2 separate regions of the Homo sapiens genome follow, and region 2 is linked to region 1. The links are contacts of gene promoters, found by promoter capture Hi-C in human tissues and cell types (Jung and others, 2019). All regions are on one chromosome and are shown on one strand. Each heading gives the region's core, a stretch centred on a gene start or on the middle of the fragment in contact. The rest is flanking DNA. Distances are from core to core; before and after follow the strand shown. Region 1 holds the start of NRBP2 (nuclear receptor binding protein 2). Region 2 has its middle 6.4 kb from the start of TOP1MT.

Region 1 (7,842 bases), core at 3,819-6,318:
CTGCTGTGTTCTAGCCCTGGAAGCAAGTCACTCAGTCCAGTCCACACTCCTGGGAGGGGATTGCACATGAGGCGGAAGACCAGGAGGCAGGGTCACCAGGACAGACAGTGGGAGGGGTCCTCTGGTGCTCCTCTGACCCCCCAGAGCTGGAACCCCCTGGCTTTCTCCCACCCTAGGATTCCTGGCATCCAGGACAGCAGTCCTGAGCCCTGCAAGCCCGGGGATCGTCCACCTGCCAATGGGAAAGAAATCTGCAGGAATTCAGAGAGCAGCTCACCTGCATGCCTCACAGGAGGGAGAGGCTTGGGAAGACTCTGAGGTGACAACCATGGAGCCCCAGTAGATCTGCAAGGTGGAAGAGGAGGAGGCAGTGAGCAGCGAACCTGCAGTTGGCATCACAAGGCATCGCACAGGGGGCCAGGCACAGCGGCTCACGCCTGCACTCCCAGCTACTCAGGAGGCTGACGCAGGAGGATCCCTGGAGCCCAGCAGTTCAAGATGAGCTTGGGCAATATAGCAAGACTGGCTCTACAAAAAGTTTTAAAAAATAGCTGGGTGCAGTGGCATGTGCCTATAGTCCCAGTTATTCAGGAGGCTGAGGTGGGAGGATCCCTTGAGCCCAGGAATTTGAGGCTGCCGTGAGCTGTGATTACACCACTGCACTCCAGGTTAACAGAGTGAGACCCTGTCTCTGAAAAAAATAAAAAATAAAAAAAAAGCCAATTCACAGATTAGGCTCAGAGGGCAGGTGGATGGCTCAATGGCTAAGAGCAGCCCTAGAGAACTTCCAATAAATTGAAATGGCCTGGCAGCATCAAGGGGTGGAGAAGCTCAGAGGCCGAGCAGAAGGGAGGGTACGCCCCCGCCCTGGGGCACAGCCTGAGTGAGGCCAGGGAGGGTGTGCCGCAGCGGCCACCACTTCTGTGCGTGGGCAGGCAGTAGGACGACCCACTCTGTGCATGGGAATAAATGCTGGGACGCATCCCTGCACGCGAACACATAGCTGTTGTCACGTTACTGTTCTTACCACGGGGGTCATGCTGGAGCAGCACCAGAGATGGAGGAGTAGCGTAAAACAGCACAAACAGATTCGCTCACTGTGCTGGAGGCTGGAAGTGCAAAATCAAGGTATCGGTAGGGCTGATGCTTCCGGAGGCTCCGAGGGAGAATCCATCCCAGGACTCTCTCCTCACCACTCATGGCCCTGGCAGTCCCAAGTAGGGTCCAGCCCCACAGGGACGGTGGGTCTCTCCCCGTGTGCAGAGACGAGAGAGTGTAGAAATAAAGACACAAGACAGAGATAAAAGAAAAGGCAGCTGGGCCCGGGGGACCACTACCACCAAGTCGCGGAGACCGGTAGTGGCCCCGAATGCCAGGCTGCACTGATATTTATTGGATACAAGACAAAGGGGCAGGATAAGGAGAGTGAGCCATCTCCAATGATAGGTAAGGCCACGTGGGTCATGTGTCCACTGGACAGGGGGCCCTTCCCTGCCTGGCAGCCGAGGCAGAGAGAGAGAGGAGACAGAGAGAAAGACAGCCTACGCCATTATTTCTGCATATCAGAGACTTTTAGTACTTTCACTAATTTGCTACTGCTATCTAGAAGGCAGAGCCAGGTGTACAGGATGGAACATGAAGGCGGACTAGGAGTGTGACCGCTGAAGCACAGCATCACAGGGAGACGGTTAGGCCTCCGGATAACTGCAGGCGAGCCTGACTAATGTCAGGCCCTCCACAAGAGGTGGAGGAGTAGAGTCTTCTTTAAACTCCACCGGGGCAAGGGAGACTCCCTTTCCCGGTCTGCTAAGTAGCAGGTGTTTTTCCTTGACACTGCGCCTACCGCTAGACCAAGGTCCACTTGGCAACAGGCATCTTCCCAGACGCTGGCGTTACCGCTAGACCAAGGAGCCCTCTGGTGGCCCTGTCTGGGCATAACAGAGGGCTCGCACTCTTGTCTTCTGGTTACTCCTCACTATGTCCCCTTAGCTCCTATCTCTGTATGGCCTGGTTTTTCCTAGGCTATGATTATAGAGTGAGGATTATTATAATATTGGAATAAAGAGTAATTGCTACAAACTAATGATTAATGATATTCATATATAATCATATCTAAGATCTATATCAGTACAACTATTCTTATTTTATATATTTTATTATACTGGAACAGCTCGTGTCCTCGAGTCCCAGGCACGCCTTGACCTGTGGGTACATCCCTCCAACACTGGCCTCCATGTTCATGTGACTGTCTACCTTATTTCTCTGCACCCCAAGTATCCCTTTTCTTTCTCTGATAAGGACATCAAACATTGGATTTAGGGCCCACCCCAGCATCTCAAGATCCTAAACTTATTTACATCTGCAAAGACCATTTTTTTTTTTTCAAATAAGGCTGTGCTCCTAGGTACTGGGGATCAGGATGTAGACTTTTGGGGGACACTATGTGACCTACCACAGAACATGTGTGTCTGGTTATGGGGGCGGAGAAAGGGGAGGAAATTCATTGAGATTCTTCTGCTCAAGGCTTACCTCCTTAGGGGCTTCTCTGGACCACACCCGCCAAAACGCACCCCTGCCCACCCACAGATCCATTCAACAAGTGTTTGCTGAGGGCCTGCTGTGTGCCGGGTACCGTCCTCGCACCAGAGAAAGAGCAGGGACAACGAGCAGACACTCCTGCCCTGCGGGAGCTCGAATCGCAACAGGGACACAGACAGTGAAGAAGAGAGATGAGAAAAACCCAGATGCAAGTCAGGTGGGGTGAATACTCCGGGAAAAGTCAAGTCAAGCAGGCGAAAGGGTGTGGGGACTGTGATGTCAGGATTCGTGGTCAGGACAGGCCTCTCAGGAAGTGACCTCAGAGGATGTTTGGGAAGGGCGTTCCGGGCAAAGGTATAACCAGGGCAGAGACCCTGAGGGGAAGTGCCTGTCATGTCCGATGGCACAGGGCCGTGTACTTGGGGTGGGCTCAGCTGAAGAAGGCAGCTGACGTGAGGTAGGGTAATGGGACCAATTACTGGGCCTTCATGTTTAGGCCCTCATACCAAGTGAGAAGGGACCACTGGGGGGGCTCCCCAAAACCACCCTCAAGTTCAATGGTTCACTAGAAGGACTCACAGAACTCGGAAAGGGTACTATTTATTACAGCAATGGATGCGTTAAAATCAGCAGTGGCAAGGACTCACAGAACAGAACCCAGGACAGACCAGCACGGGTCTGCAGGTGTCCCCACCCACTGCAGGCATGGGGACAGTGCTCAACCTCCCAGCACTGAGGTGTGACAATGAGCACAGCATGTCAGCAGCCAGGGAAGCCCTCCGTACCTCAGTGTCCAGGGTTTTTATTGGGTTGGTCACACAGGCATGGCTGACCTCCCAGGTGGCTGACTTTGGCCTCCAGCCCCTGCAGAGGTCAGGCTGATGCCACATGGCCCAAGGTCCCCCCGTAGACCATATTGTTAGCACAGACCAGGGGTGTCCAATCTGTGGGCTTTCCTGGCACACATTGGAAGAATTGTCCTGGGCAATACCCTTAAATAAAATACACTTAACACTAACAACAGCTGATGAGCTTTAAAAAAAATCTCAATAAGAAAGTTTATGAATTTGTGTTGGGCCATATTCAAAGCTGTCCTTGGCCGAATGCACCCTCTGGGCTGCGGGTTGGACAAGCTTAGCATAGAATCTGGTGTGGCCGAGGTAAACACAGACATTCAAATCAGGCAGAACATTCCAAGGGCTTAGAGGGTGTCTCCCAGGAGCTGGTCAGGGCCAGTTTCAGGGTGGAGGATTTGAACACCCCAAACCTTTACTGCAGAGGGCCTCAGCAGGATCACCTGGCATTGGTGGAAACCACACACAAGGTGCCTGGTGACCAAGGCTGGTCAGAAAAGAGAGACCACAGGGGACGCAGCAGGGCCAGATGCACCTCTGCCAAAGAAAGAAAGAGGCGTCCCAAAGGGCCAGTGCATGGAGCTGCGCGGAGGGGAGGAGCGGAGTTCCAATTTGGGCTCCAGAGAGAGAAGGTAAAGGATGAGGACCCGCCGTGAAGGAGGGAGGAGACCACAGGAAGGCCGTGGGGGCTGTGGGCTGAAGGGGGTTTTAGGTGAGAATCGGGGACAGCCCCGGTGGTCGGCGTGGCTGGAGGGTGTGCTTAGAGCGGCCTCCGGAGGGAGAGGTCGTGTGAGCCGGGTGGGCTCCCCCCTCATGGTTCCACTGTCCCATGGGAGCCAGCCGCGGAAAGGAAATGCGCGTTTGAGGAGAAAAGAGAAAATCGCCATCCTGGAAAGTGAGAAGATGGGCTTGTGGGCGGGAGGAGGCACTGGTGGGCGGGCCAGGGAGAGATTCGTGGTCACCGATCAAAGTCAGCCTGGGTCAGCCTGCTGGTGGGCCTTTCCCCCGCCCTCGGTGCCCCTTCGACCTGTCCCTTGGGGGTCGGCCGGGGAATGAGTGCGTGGCCAGGAGAGCGGGTCCCGCTTTCGAGCCCGCGGGGTCTTCTGCAGCTGGAGGGTGCCGTGGGCTTGGGGGCCCCCAGATGCCCCGGGTCTTCCCCCAGATCCTAGGGGAGCAACCGCGAGAGAAGTGGGCGCTCCGGGCTCCAGGTGTCCGCAGGGCGGGGCCTCCGAGGGGGCGGGGATTTGGGGGCGGTTCCTCTGCGCGGGGCGGGGCCTCATAGGGGCGGGGCTTCGAGGAGGTGAGGCGGGGCCTGGGGTGGGGCTTCGCGGAGGACCCTGGGAACGGGCGGGGGCGGGGACTAAAACGGGGCGGGGATTCGCGGGGGTGGGGCGGGTCCTGGGGCGGGGCTTCGCGAAGGAGGCTTGGAGGACGAGGAGGGGACAGGGCCTGGGGAGGGGCTTCGCGGAGCAGGCCTGGGAGACGAGGAGGAAACAGGGACTGGGGCGGGGCTTCGCGGGGCGGGGCCTCCGGGGGGGCGGGGCCTGGGCGCGGCCCGGGCTCGGCAGCTCTCGGGGAAGCTCTGCTCTGGCTCCGGCAGGCACAGGCGGCTCGGGAGGTGCGCGCCGGCTCCGCCCCCGGGCCCCGCCCGTCCGCCGCGCGCCCGCGCCTCCCAATTCCCAGAGCCGGGGCTGGGGCTCTAGGCTGCCGCGGCGGCTCTAGGCTGGGCTGCTGGGCGCGAGGCCAGGGCGGGCCGGGAGAGGCTGCGCCGGCGGCGGATCGCGCAGAGGGCGGTGGCCTGGGCTGGCCGAACCATGGCGGCCCCGGAGCCGGCGCCGAGGCGGGCCCGGGAACGGGAGCGGGAGCGGGAGGACGAGAGCGAGGACGAGAGCGACATCCTGGAGGAAAGCCCGTGTGGTCGCTGGCAAAAGCGACGGGAGCAGGTGGGCGCGGGGGTTGGGGCACGGGGTGACACCGCCCTCCCAGAGCGGGAGGGGCCTGGAGGCTGCGCGGGGCGTGGGGGCGCTGGGAGAGCGCGGCGGCTGGAAACCTCTCCGCGGCCCCTCGCGGCCCGCGAATCAGCCACCCCTGGACCCCTTTGGCCTGGCGCTCGCCCTGGGACTCCCTGAGGGCCAGTCTCCTCCCAGGACCACCTCCCCATGCCTCTGGACTCAGCCGCTAGCTTCCTGGGGATCCCCCTCGACCCCCTGAAACCTGCTCCAAATCCCCTTAGCCCAGCCCTTGGATAGGAGCCCTTGGCTCCTGGGGGCAGCTACCCTCCAAGCCCCACCTTCCCGCAGAGTGGCTCAGGGCCTGCAGCCCACGCTTGGGCCCACTGGAAAGGTGTGGACAGGGACCAAATCCTCACCCACAACCCTGACACACACCAGGGCACACATAACCCTTTATTCACCCCCAGGTAAACCAAGGGAACATGCCAGGGCTTCAGAGCACCTTCCTAGCCATGGACACGGAGGAGGGGGTAGAGGTGGTGTGGAACGAGCTCCACTTCGGAGACAGGAAGGCCTTCGCGGCGCACGAGGTGAGACCGCTGCCCCCTCCTCATCCTGCTTGGGTGACCACCTGCTGACCACCCAGCGACCACCCTCCCTCCCCAGGAGAAGATCCAGACCGTGTTCGAGCAGCTGGTGCTGGTGGACCACCCGAACATCGTGAAGTTGCACAAGTACTGGCTGGATACCTCTGAGGCCTGCGCGAGGGTGAGCACGGGCAAGGCCCCGGGCAGGCAGAGACCACAGCTAGGTGGGGCGGGCATGGGGACGAACCCGCAGCTGGTGGAAATCCTGAGCTCGCACCGTGCAGGTCATCTTCATCACAGAGTACGTGTCATCAGGCAGCCTCAAGCAATTCCTCAAAAAGACCAAGAAGAACCACAAGGCCATGAACGCCCGGGTATGGGGAGCGGGCTGGGGCAGCCACGGGGACAGGACGGGGTTGGGGCAGCCTCGGGGACTGGGATGGTGAGGGGGTGCCCGGCGGCCTCGGACAGGGGCTGGGCGAGGATGCGGGGCGGGCTCCGCAGGCCCAGCCGCCTCTCCTGCGCCCACCCGACCGACGGAGTCGTGCGTCCGCCGCCAGGCCTGGAAGCGCTGGTGCACGCAGATCCTGTCTGCGCTCAGGTGAGGGCCTGGGCTGGCCTGGGCGCGGCGCCACCGAGCCCCCATCTCTCCAGAGCCTCCTGACCGGCTCCTCCTACTCTCCCCTCCCCAACGTCTGCAGCTTCCTGCACGCCTGCAGCCCCCCAATCATCCACGGGAACCTGACCAGCGACACCATCTTCATTCAGCACAACGGCCTCATCAAGATCGGCTCCGGTGCTGGCGGGGCAGGGCTGGGTGGGGGAACGGGGCAGGGGAAGGTGCCTGGAGCCAAGGGCAGAGGAGTTCTGATGCCCCAGCAGCTAACTCCACTCTTTCTCCCGCCCCTTGGCAGTGTGGCACCGAATCTTCTCCAATGGTAAGTGCGGACTTTGGGGGGACGGGGTCCTGGAGAGGTCCCCGCCCGCTCAGCTCTGCGCCCTCCCACAGCACTTCCAGATGATCTCCGAAGCCCCATCCGCGCTGAGCGAGAGGAACTTCGGAACCTGCACTTCTTCCCCCCAGAGTATGGAGGTGAGTGGTGCTGGGTCCGGGTGCCCCGTGCCTACCCTGCGCTTCTCTCCTACGTGTCCTGTGCTCTCTTCTGTTCAGAGGTGGCCGATGGGACCGCTGTGGACATCTTCTCCTTTGGGATGTGTGCGCTGGAGGTACTGCCCCCGCCCTCCACCTTGTGCTCTGCCCTCCTCCTAACTGTGCCCTGCCTGGCTCACCTGTGTGGTCCCTTCCCCATGCCTGACCTGGCTCTGTGCCCCAGATGGCTGTACTGGAAATCCAGACCAATGGGGACACCCGGGTCACAGAGGAGGCCATTGCTCGCGCCAGGCACTCGCTGAGTGACCCCAACATGCGGGTAAGCAGCTTGCCCTGCCCCTCCCCAGCTGGCTCACCGTGCTCAGCTAGGGCTAGCAAGGTGCTCCAGGCAGACCTGGGAGAACATCACAGTTTGTGCAGTTGAGGGGTATACCAGCTGACTGCACCCCTCCCAAAGAGGACCTCAGTGGGAGCACATACTGGTTCCAGGCCTGAAGGCCCTAAGGGGTCAGCACATTCTAAGGACAAGAAGGCAAGAGAGACCCTCCCTCTGTGGCTGCCATCACCATGCCCGTTTTATAAAGAAACCAAGGTTCAGAGGAGATGAGTCCTTTGCCCAAGGCTTTAGAGTGAGTGGTGGAGCCAACATCTGCACCTGGGTCTGCTTCACTCCAAGTCCTTGACTTTAAGCTTCCAGGAGGTGATGAGGCTCCAGCTTGTGGGGGGACATGGTGGGTGCCAAGCAGGCAAAAAGAGGTATGGGATGGAAGCTGCATCCACAGCCCCCTCTGCTCGGAGTC
Region 2 (7,842 bases), core at 3,901-6,400, 500 kb after region 1:
GTGTCTGTGTCCGGGGACTGGGACCTGTCTATGGGGAGTCTCCCATGCATACTCTTTTACAAGCCCCTGTGCTGGCCCAGGTGGAGCCAGGATTGTGTCATTGAGTTGGGATGAGGTAGAGAATGAGTTACCTTTTAACACGGCCCCTGGGTCTCTTATTGCTTAAAACTTTAACGTTTCCTTCCTTCTGATTTTTCTACCCCAGACTGCAGCCCGTGCTGATGACTGTGGCTGTGATGAATTCGTGCCTGTGACCACAGCTGCTCTCCAGGTGCTGGGTGGCTCCTCCCTTGACGCCCATCCATTCTGTCTCCTGCCTGGCCTTGTTCACTGTCGCTCATCTCGCTCAGCTGAGGTCCCTCCTCCTCCGCTGTTTGGTGTCCTTGCCAGTTAATCACCCTTAGGTGCTGGGCCCTGGACTTACGGACAACATGGAGCCTGGCTTGTTGACAGGACAGTGTCTGCGCCTCTCCGTCTACACCCCCACAACAGGGGTTACTGGGGAGGGGGCGTCTGGGAGTGACAGAGATCGCTGTGGGGTCTGTGTGACCATCAGCTGTCCCTGTAGCTGGGGAATGGTGCTGCGCGGCGGGCGGGTGGCACAGTGAGCAGCCCTGGGTCCTCACTGAGTAAGGGAGTGGCTGGGGAGTGGGGAGGCTTGCCTTTGTATCCTGGGTGGGCATGGGGCTGGGGGAGTCACGGAGACCTGGAGGACCAGCTGCTGCTGGCCAGTGGGTGGTGGTGTCTCAGGGCCAGCCCAAAGCCTCCTGAGCTCCTGCCACTGCTACTGAGTGCTTCCTAGCCTGTCCCTCTGGTGTCCCGCCACTCCTTCTTCCTCAAGCAGGAGGGCTGAGCTGGGCTGGGGCAGAGGGGGCCTCCCACGGCTTCCCTGTGGGACTCTAGGCCTCTGCAGTCAGCACATCCTGAGAGGACCGTGGGTGTCTGCTGCCCTTCCCTCCCTAGTCCTCTCGTTTCGGTGAAGCGGCTCCTTCTGTCTTCTCAAGCACAGACCTTGGTGTCATCTTTGAGGGCCCCATCCTTGAGGGCCTAGATTCCACATGAAATCCATCTATGAATCCTGCTTTCCAGCTGTGTTACAACAGGGCCTCCTCTCACCTTTCTCGGCTGGCCCAGGCCTCTGCCTCAGTAGGGCTCTAACATGATTTTCAGAAATCTCACAGGTTTTTCCTTGCAAGACGCGTGTTTCACTGTGTCTCCAGTCTGCATGGATGTGGGCGTGTGTTGTGATGGTCAGATGGTGGAGTGAGAGCAGCCATAGTGTGAGGTGTGGGTGAGGGTGGCCAGTCAGCCGATGAGTGGGAGCGTTCAGACCGGGGTGCCTGGTGCCCCCATAACCTCCTCGGGGTTCCCAGGGATGGCGCCTCTGACCCAGCGTGCAGCCCGAGGTGGGCCCCGTGCCATTCCCACTTAAGCGAAGTGTCTGTTCCTCTCTCTGTTCAATGTGGGTTTTGTTTCTGAATATATTTTCTCACACTTCTTCTTCAAAAGTTACTTTGGAAAGACTGTTTTTCCAAATTGATGATCTCTGAACTGCTGTGGTGTTGGTGGGGACAGAGATGGTCCCAGAGGGGACCTGGGAGCTGCCTTTTACTGCCTGCCCACTCTTCCCGAGGCCGGGAGGGGCCTGAGATGTGTTCGCAGCTTCTGGCCTCGGGCGGGACTTCCCACCGCCAGCTGGTGCTGTGCTCAGAGTCAGAGGTTCCTTGATGCCCAGCACGTGGGTCACCAGCAGCTTTGCCAGGTGTACTTTTGAAAAATGAGAAAAGGGTCATGAAGAGCTTGGGAGGCTTCCATGAGGTTGTTCTGACTCTCTGTTGTTAGAATGGCAACCCTAAATGAGCCGCAGAGCTGCATGTTTATGTATACATTTGAATTCTAGATTTGCACAGATCACCACGCCAGTGAAGACTAATCACCATGAAAAGCCACCCAAGAAAAAAGGCCAAGTCGGCATCTTAAATAGGAAATGAATGTGTGAACATGATTCTGATAAGCAACTTCCCAGGCACTCATGCCTGATGAATGCTTATTCTTGCAGATATGACAACACAAATGAACTTAGTGTCTGATTTTCTTCTAAGATTTTATGGTGAAATAAGTTAGCAGGCCAGGCGTGGTGGCTCATGCCTATAATCCTAGCACTTTGGGAGGCGGAGGTGGGTGGGTCACCTGAGGTCAGGAATTTGAGACCAGCCTGTCCAACATGATGAAACCCCCTCTCTACTAAAAATACAAAATTAGCCGGGTGTGGTGGTCGGGAGGCTGAGGCAGGAGAATCGCTTGAACCCGGGAGGCAGAGGTTGCAGTGAGCCGAGATCACGCCACTGCACTCCAGCCTGGGTGACAGAGCGAGACTCTGTCTCTAATAATAATAATAATAATAATAATAGAGCAAGACTCTGTCTCTAATAATAATAACAGAGCGAGACTCTGTCTCTAATAATAATAATAACAGCGAGACTCTGTCTCTAATAATAATAATAATAATAGAGCGAGACTGTCTCTAATAATAATAATAATAATAGAGCGAGACTGTCTCTAATAATAATAATAATAACAGCGAGACTCTGTCTCTAATAATAATAATAACAGAGCGAGACTCTGTCTCTAATAATAATAATAATAACAGAGCGAGACTCTGTCTCTAATAATAATAATAATAACAGCGAGACTCTGTCTCTAATAATAATAATAATAACAGAGCGAGACTCTGTCTCTAATAATAATAATAATAACAGAGCGAGACTCTGTCTCTAATAATAATAATAATAACAGCGAGGCTCTGTCTCTAATAATAATAACAGAGCGAGACTCTGTCTCTAATAATAATAATAACAGCGAGACTCTGTCTCTAATAATAATAATAATAACAGCGAGACTCTGTCTCTAATAATAATAATAACAGAGCGAGACTCTGTCTCTAATAATAATAATAATAGAGCGAGACTCTGTCTCTAATAATAATAATAACAGCGAGACTGTCTCTAATAATAACAGAGCGAGACTCTGTCTCTAATAATAATAATAATAACAGAGCGAGACTGTGTCTCTAATAATAATAACAGAGCGAGACTCTAATAATAATAATAACAGAGCGAGACTCTGTCTCTAATAATAATAATAACAGCGAGACTCTGTCTCTAATATAATAACAGAGCGAGACTCTGTCTCTAATAATAATAATAACAGCGAGACTCTGTCTCTAATAATAATAATAACAGAGCGAGACTCTGTCTCAATAATAATAATAATAACAGAGTGAGACTCTGTCGCTAATAAGAAGAAGAAGAAGGGGGAGGAGAAAGAGGAAGGAGGAGGAGGAGGAAGAAGAGGAAGAAGAAGGAAGAAGGAAGCACTAGATGGGGCAGTGGTGTCGGGATAGTGCTCTGTGACCTTCCCTTTCTGGTGTTTTGTGTCTGGGTCAGGGTGGACGCTGGCAGTATGGCCTGTTGCGGCCTGCACCTGCTCCGGAGTTGGGAGCAGCCCCAAGCTGACCCCTGGCTCCTTTGTTCATTGCCCTTGGTTTCTGCTCCTGACAGAGGCCACAAGGGCTGAGATCAAGAGGCCATTTTCCAAAGCTGAGTTAAAAGCATCTGTTAGGCCCATGGAGGGCAGCCATTGCTGGGGTGGGGAAGGTGAACCTTCCCTCCTCCTCTGGGGTCTCCGGGTGGGTATGTTTGTGGCCCTGTGGCCCCTCTCATGGTGTGTGCTCTCTGTTCTGGGCAAGGTCCCAAGGCCACACGGAGGTTCCTGCAGACAAGATGAAGATGGCCCTTGGTGGATGTGCCCGGGGTCCTGACACCCAAGAGAAGAGATAGAAGGGCATGGCCCTGCAGGCGGTGCCCAGCCGGAAGGGGGCTCTGGAAGAGGACCTGGACTGTGAGCTCACAGACACTGGCCGGGGCAAGGGCTGTGTGGAAGAGAGGCACAAACTGAGAAAAAAAAAAGAATATCCGAAGAGAAAGGGGAGAAAGGGCTTCAGGACAAACGTGTGGGGAGATGCACTGGGGCGGCAGCACGAGAAGAGGGTGGCGGGGACGCTAGGGGCAAGCCTGAGACCCTCAGCTGTGGGGAGCGGAAGAGTGCAGGGGCCGCCGTGGGAGCTGGGGAGGAGCGCGCTCTGGGCAGTGGGATAGACAGAGCAGTTCCCACAGAAGAGGTGCGAAGCGTGGCCAGGAGCAGGTGCACAGTGAGGGCATGGTGCCCACCCCAGCACGGAGGACGAGCCAGGGCCACACTGAGCAGAAAGGAGAGTTACGGGCCAGGAGACAAGCACAGAACGAGGACGAGGATGTAAAAGAAGTGTGGGTGGGAAAAACCAAGAAAGAAGAAAGTGACAAATTAGGTAGTGGCACAAAAGTGGGACAGGAGGCCTTGGTTTCCAGAAAAGAAAAGAAGAGGGAGACAGACAAAGCTGGGGAAGAGGGGACTCGAAAACCAAAGAAATGAAAAGCTCAGGACCTGGAGGAAGACAGAGAAGTGCAGTGTGGGAGTGAGCTGGACGGGGCACCACAGCCAGCGGCGTGGCCTCGCCATTGCCCTGGGGCAAAGGGTGACTGGGAGGTGGGGGGCCTGGTGAAGAAGCCCCAAGAAGAGAAAGCTCAGGGCAGCCGGAAGCCAGCCAGAAGCAGAGAGAAGTGGAAGGAGGGGGAGCCAGTTGATGCTGGGGTGTCCAGAGGGAGAGAAGAAAGATGGCCAGGAGGCAGCTAAGCCACAGGAGGAGAGCCAGAAAGGGTGGGAGAAGGCCGAAGGCAGCAGGTGGAAATGGTGTGTACCCTACCCCACCCCTTCTCTCCCTCCATGTCCTGACGGGGTGGTGGGAATGCTGTGTAGACCAGTGCTGGGAGGGGGGGAATGCTGTGCAGACCGGTGCTGGGAGGGGGGAATGCTGTGTAGACCAGTGCTGGGAGTGTGGGAATGCTGTGTAGACCAGTGCTGGGAGGGGGGGAATGCTGTGTAGACCAGTGCTGGGAGTGGGGGAATGCTGTGTAGACCAGTGCTGGGAGTGGGGGAATGCTGTGTAGACCAGTGCTGGGAGTGGGGGAATGCTGTGTAGACCAGTGCTGGGAGTGGGGGAATGCTGTGTAGACCAGTGCTGGGACGGGGGAATGCTGTGTAGACCAGTGCTGGGACGGGGGAATGCTGTGTAGACCAGTGCTGGGAGTGGGGGAATGCTGTGTAGACCAGTGCTGGGACGGGGGAATGCTGTGTAGACCAGTGCTGGGAGTGGGGTAATGCTGTGTAGACCAGTGCTGGGACGGGGGGAATGCTGTGTAGACCAGTGCTGGGAGTGGGGGAATGCTGTGTAGACCAGTGCTGGGACGGGGGGAATGCTGTGTAGACCAGTGCTGGCAGGGGTGGAATGCTGTGTAGATCAGCGCTGGGAGCAGGGGAATGCAGTTTAGACCAGCACAGGCCCACTTCCCCTCCCTGTCCCTGGTGGGGGAGGCGGGGAGTGCTGTGTAGACCAGTGCTGGGAATGTGGGAATGCTACAGTGCTGGCCTTTGCCTGCCCACTGTAGGTTGCCAGGGAGCCTGGGTGCCCCCCAGAGTGCCCTCTTGCATCGGCAGCTTTGAGCTGTGGGTTGTAGGGTACTGGGAGCAGCCAGCAGTAAGTGAGTGTTTGCTGTGTGTCTGGCATTGCTTTTGGTCAGTCCTCTATGAAGTAGGTACTGCTATGTCCATTTTTCAGATGAGGAAACTGAGGTACAAAAAGGTTAAGTAACCGGGCCAAGGTCACATGGCCACAAGTGGGCCACACTGCAGTTGTAGCCGTCACCCCTGCTGTGTCCTGTACGCAGCCACGAGCTGCGCAGCTCTCCCAGTGGAGACGTGCTGGGGGTGTGATACGCACGCCTGCTTTGAGAAGAACGATGCATACCATCGCATTAGCATATTATGTTGAATGACAGTATTTTGGTTGAAATAGTTGAAATTAAGTATATTGTTAAGGTCAAAGTCACTGTTTCTTTTGCAGTGTGGCTTCTGGATGGGGTAAACTCCACCACTGCTCGCAGCTGTGTCTGCTGGGCGGCGCCGCCTCCCACCTGGGCAGTCCCTGCATAGCCTTGGAGCTCCGGCTTCTGGGTGGGAAACGTCTTTATAGGTATCAGCTCCTGCATTCAGCACCTGTTTGATTCTGGGGAAATTCTTTAAATTTTCTAAGCCTAGTTTCTCTCATGCAAAACAGGGGTCCTCCTACCTGCTGTGAGGAAGAGTGCGTGAAGCCCTGTCCCCGCTCCCTTGGGCAACCCCTGAGTGGCCTGGGGAAGAAGAGGGCACAAGGGGAGGAGGCCGCCAACCCCAGGAATATTGGCAGACAGTTCATAGAAACCCCTTCTGGTCTGCAGGCCCAGACTCCCCAACTGTGTCTCTGGCCTTGTGCAGTGGGTGCCACTTTTCCACGCCCTCCCCAGCATGTTGACTGCAGCCACCCAGGTGTGAGGTGACCTCACTGTGGGTTGGATTTGCATTTCTCCCATGGCTGATGATTTTGAGCATCTTTTTACAGGATTGTTGGCCTTTTATATCTCATCTTTGGAGAAATGTCTATTTAGATTATTTATCCCCCTTTTTAAAATTAACATTTTTTTTTTTTTGAGACGGAGTCTCATTTTGTTGCCCAGGCTGGAGTGCAATGGTGCGATCTCAGCTCACCACAGCCTCCACCTCCCGGGTTCAAGTGATTCTCCTGTTTCAGCCTCCCGAGTAGCTGGGATTACAGGCATGAGCCACCACGCCTAGCTAATTTTGAATTTTTAGTAGAGACGGGGTTTCTCCATGTTGGTCAGGCTGGTCCTGAACTCCCGACCTCAGGTGATCCGCCCGCCTTGGCCTCCCAAAGTGCTGAGATTACAGGCGTGAGCCACCAAGCCCAGCCAAAAAAAAAATTTTTTTTTAAGAGATGGAGCCTGTTGTTCAGGCTGGAGTGCAGTAGCCTGATCATAGCTCACTGCAGTCTTGAACTCCTGGGTTCAAGCAATCCTCCCACTCAGCCCCCTGAGTAGCTAGGACTACTGTAGCAGGACACGTTGCAGACAAAACCTCTCGGACACCGGTTTTAGGGAATAAGAGGTTTTAATCAGCTGGGAGCATCAGTAGAATCGCCTCTCAAGATCCGGGCTCCCCGAGGTCCAGATTCCTGTCCCTTTTAAGGGCTTACAACTCTAAGGGGTCCATGTGAAAGGGCCGTGATACATTGTGCAAGTGGGGGCTACGTAACTGGGGCCGCATGCACCGGTGATCAGAACAGAACCAAACAGGGAGTTACGCAATGCTTCCTCATAAGAAGTCTGGAATCTGTAGATAACAGAAGCGATTAGGTCCGGGCCGATCTTTAACTACCAGGCCTGGGGTGTGGCGCCGGGCTGTTTGACTATTGAATTTCACTTCTGCCTTTTCTTTAACTCCTACTTTTTCTTTTCTTTGAGGCAGAAATTAGGCAGAAGACAATATGAGAGGTGGTCTCCTCCCTTACTACAGGTGTACACCATCATGCCTGGCTAATTTAAAAATCTTTAGTACAGATGGGGTCTTGCTGTGTTCCCTGGGCCAGTTTTGAAGTTTTGAAATCAGCAAGTATGAATCCTCCAACTTTGTTATTCTTTTTCAAACATTGTTTTGGCTATTCTGGGTCCCTTGTATTTCCCTGTGAATTTTAGGATCAGGTTGTCAATTTCTGTAAAAACGCCAGCTGGAATTTAGATGGGGATTGTATTGAGTTTTTGGATCAGTTTGGGGAGTATTGCCGTCTTTTTTTTTGAGACGGAGTCTTGCTCTGTTGCCCACGCTGGAGTGTAGTAGCGTGATCTCGGCTCACTG

The links. Contacts are between HindIII fragments. The study calls those that stand out against the background at their distance.
Region 2: a contact is called between a fragment that was not itself captured here and the fragment with the promoter of NRBP2 in region 1, in 2 of the 25 tissues and cell types used here (dorsolateral prefrontal cortex and spleen).

Annotation. Positions count from the first base shown.
Region 1 is chr8:143,838,199-143,846,040 of GRCh38, reverse strand. It overlaps NRBP2 (nuclear receptor binding protein 2), which reads left to right and starts at 5,068. Exons shown (of 18, transcript NM_178564.4): 1 at 5,068-5,335; 2 at 5,812-5,934; 3 at 6,011-6,112; 4 at 6,216-6,305; 5 at 6,492-6,532; 6 at 6,633-6,727; 7 at 6,846-6,869; 8 at 6,941-7,024; 9 at 7,103-7,158; 10 at 7,266-7,361. The coding sequence starts at 5,207. RefSeq lists enhancers at 3,721-4,450, 4,451-5,181 and a silencer at 4,607-5,166. The HindIII fragment of the contact is 10,207 bases long and covers 1-7,842 here.
Region 2 is chr8:143,337,345-143,345,186 of GRCh38, reverse strand. It overlaps a transcript of TOP1MT not described here. Among named protein-coding and RNA genes, the nearest start is that of TOP1MT, 6.4 kb to the right of the region's middle. RefSeq lists an enhancer at 5,313-6,050. The HindIII fragment of the contact is 8,640 bases long and covers 831-7,842 here.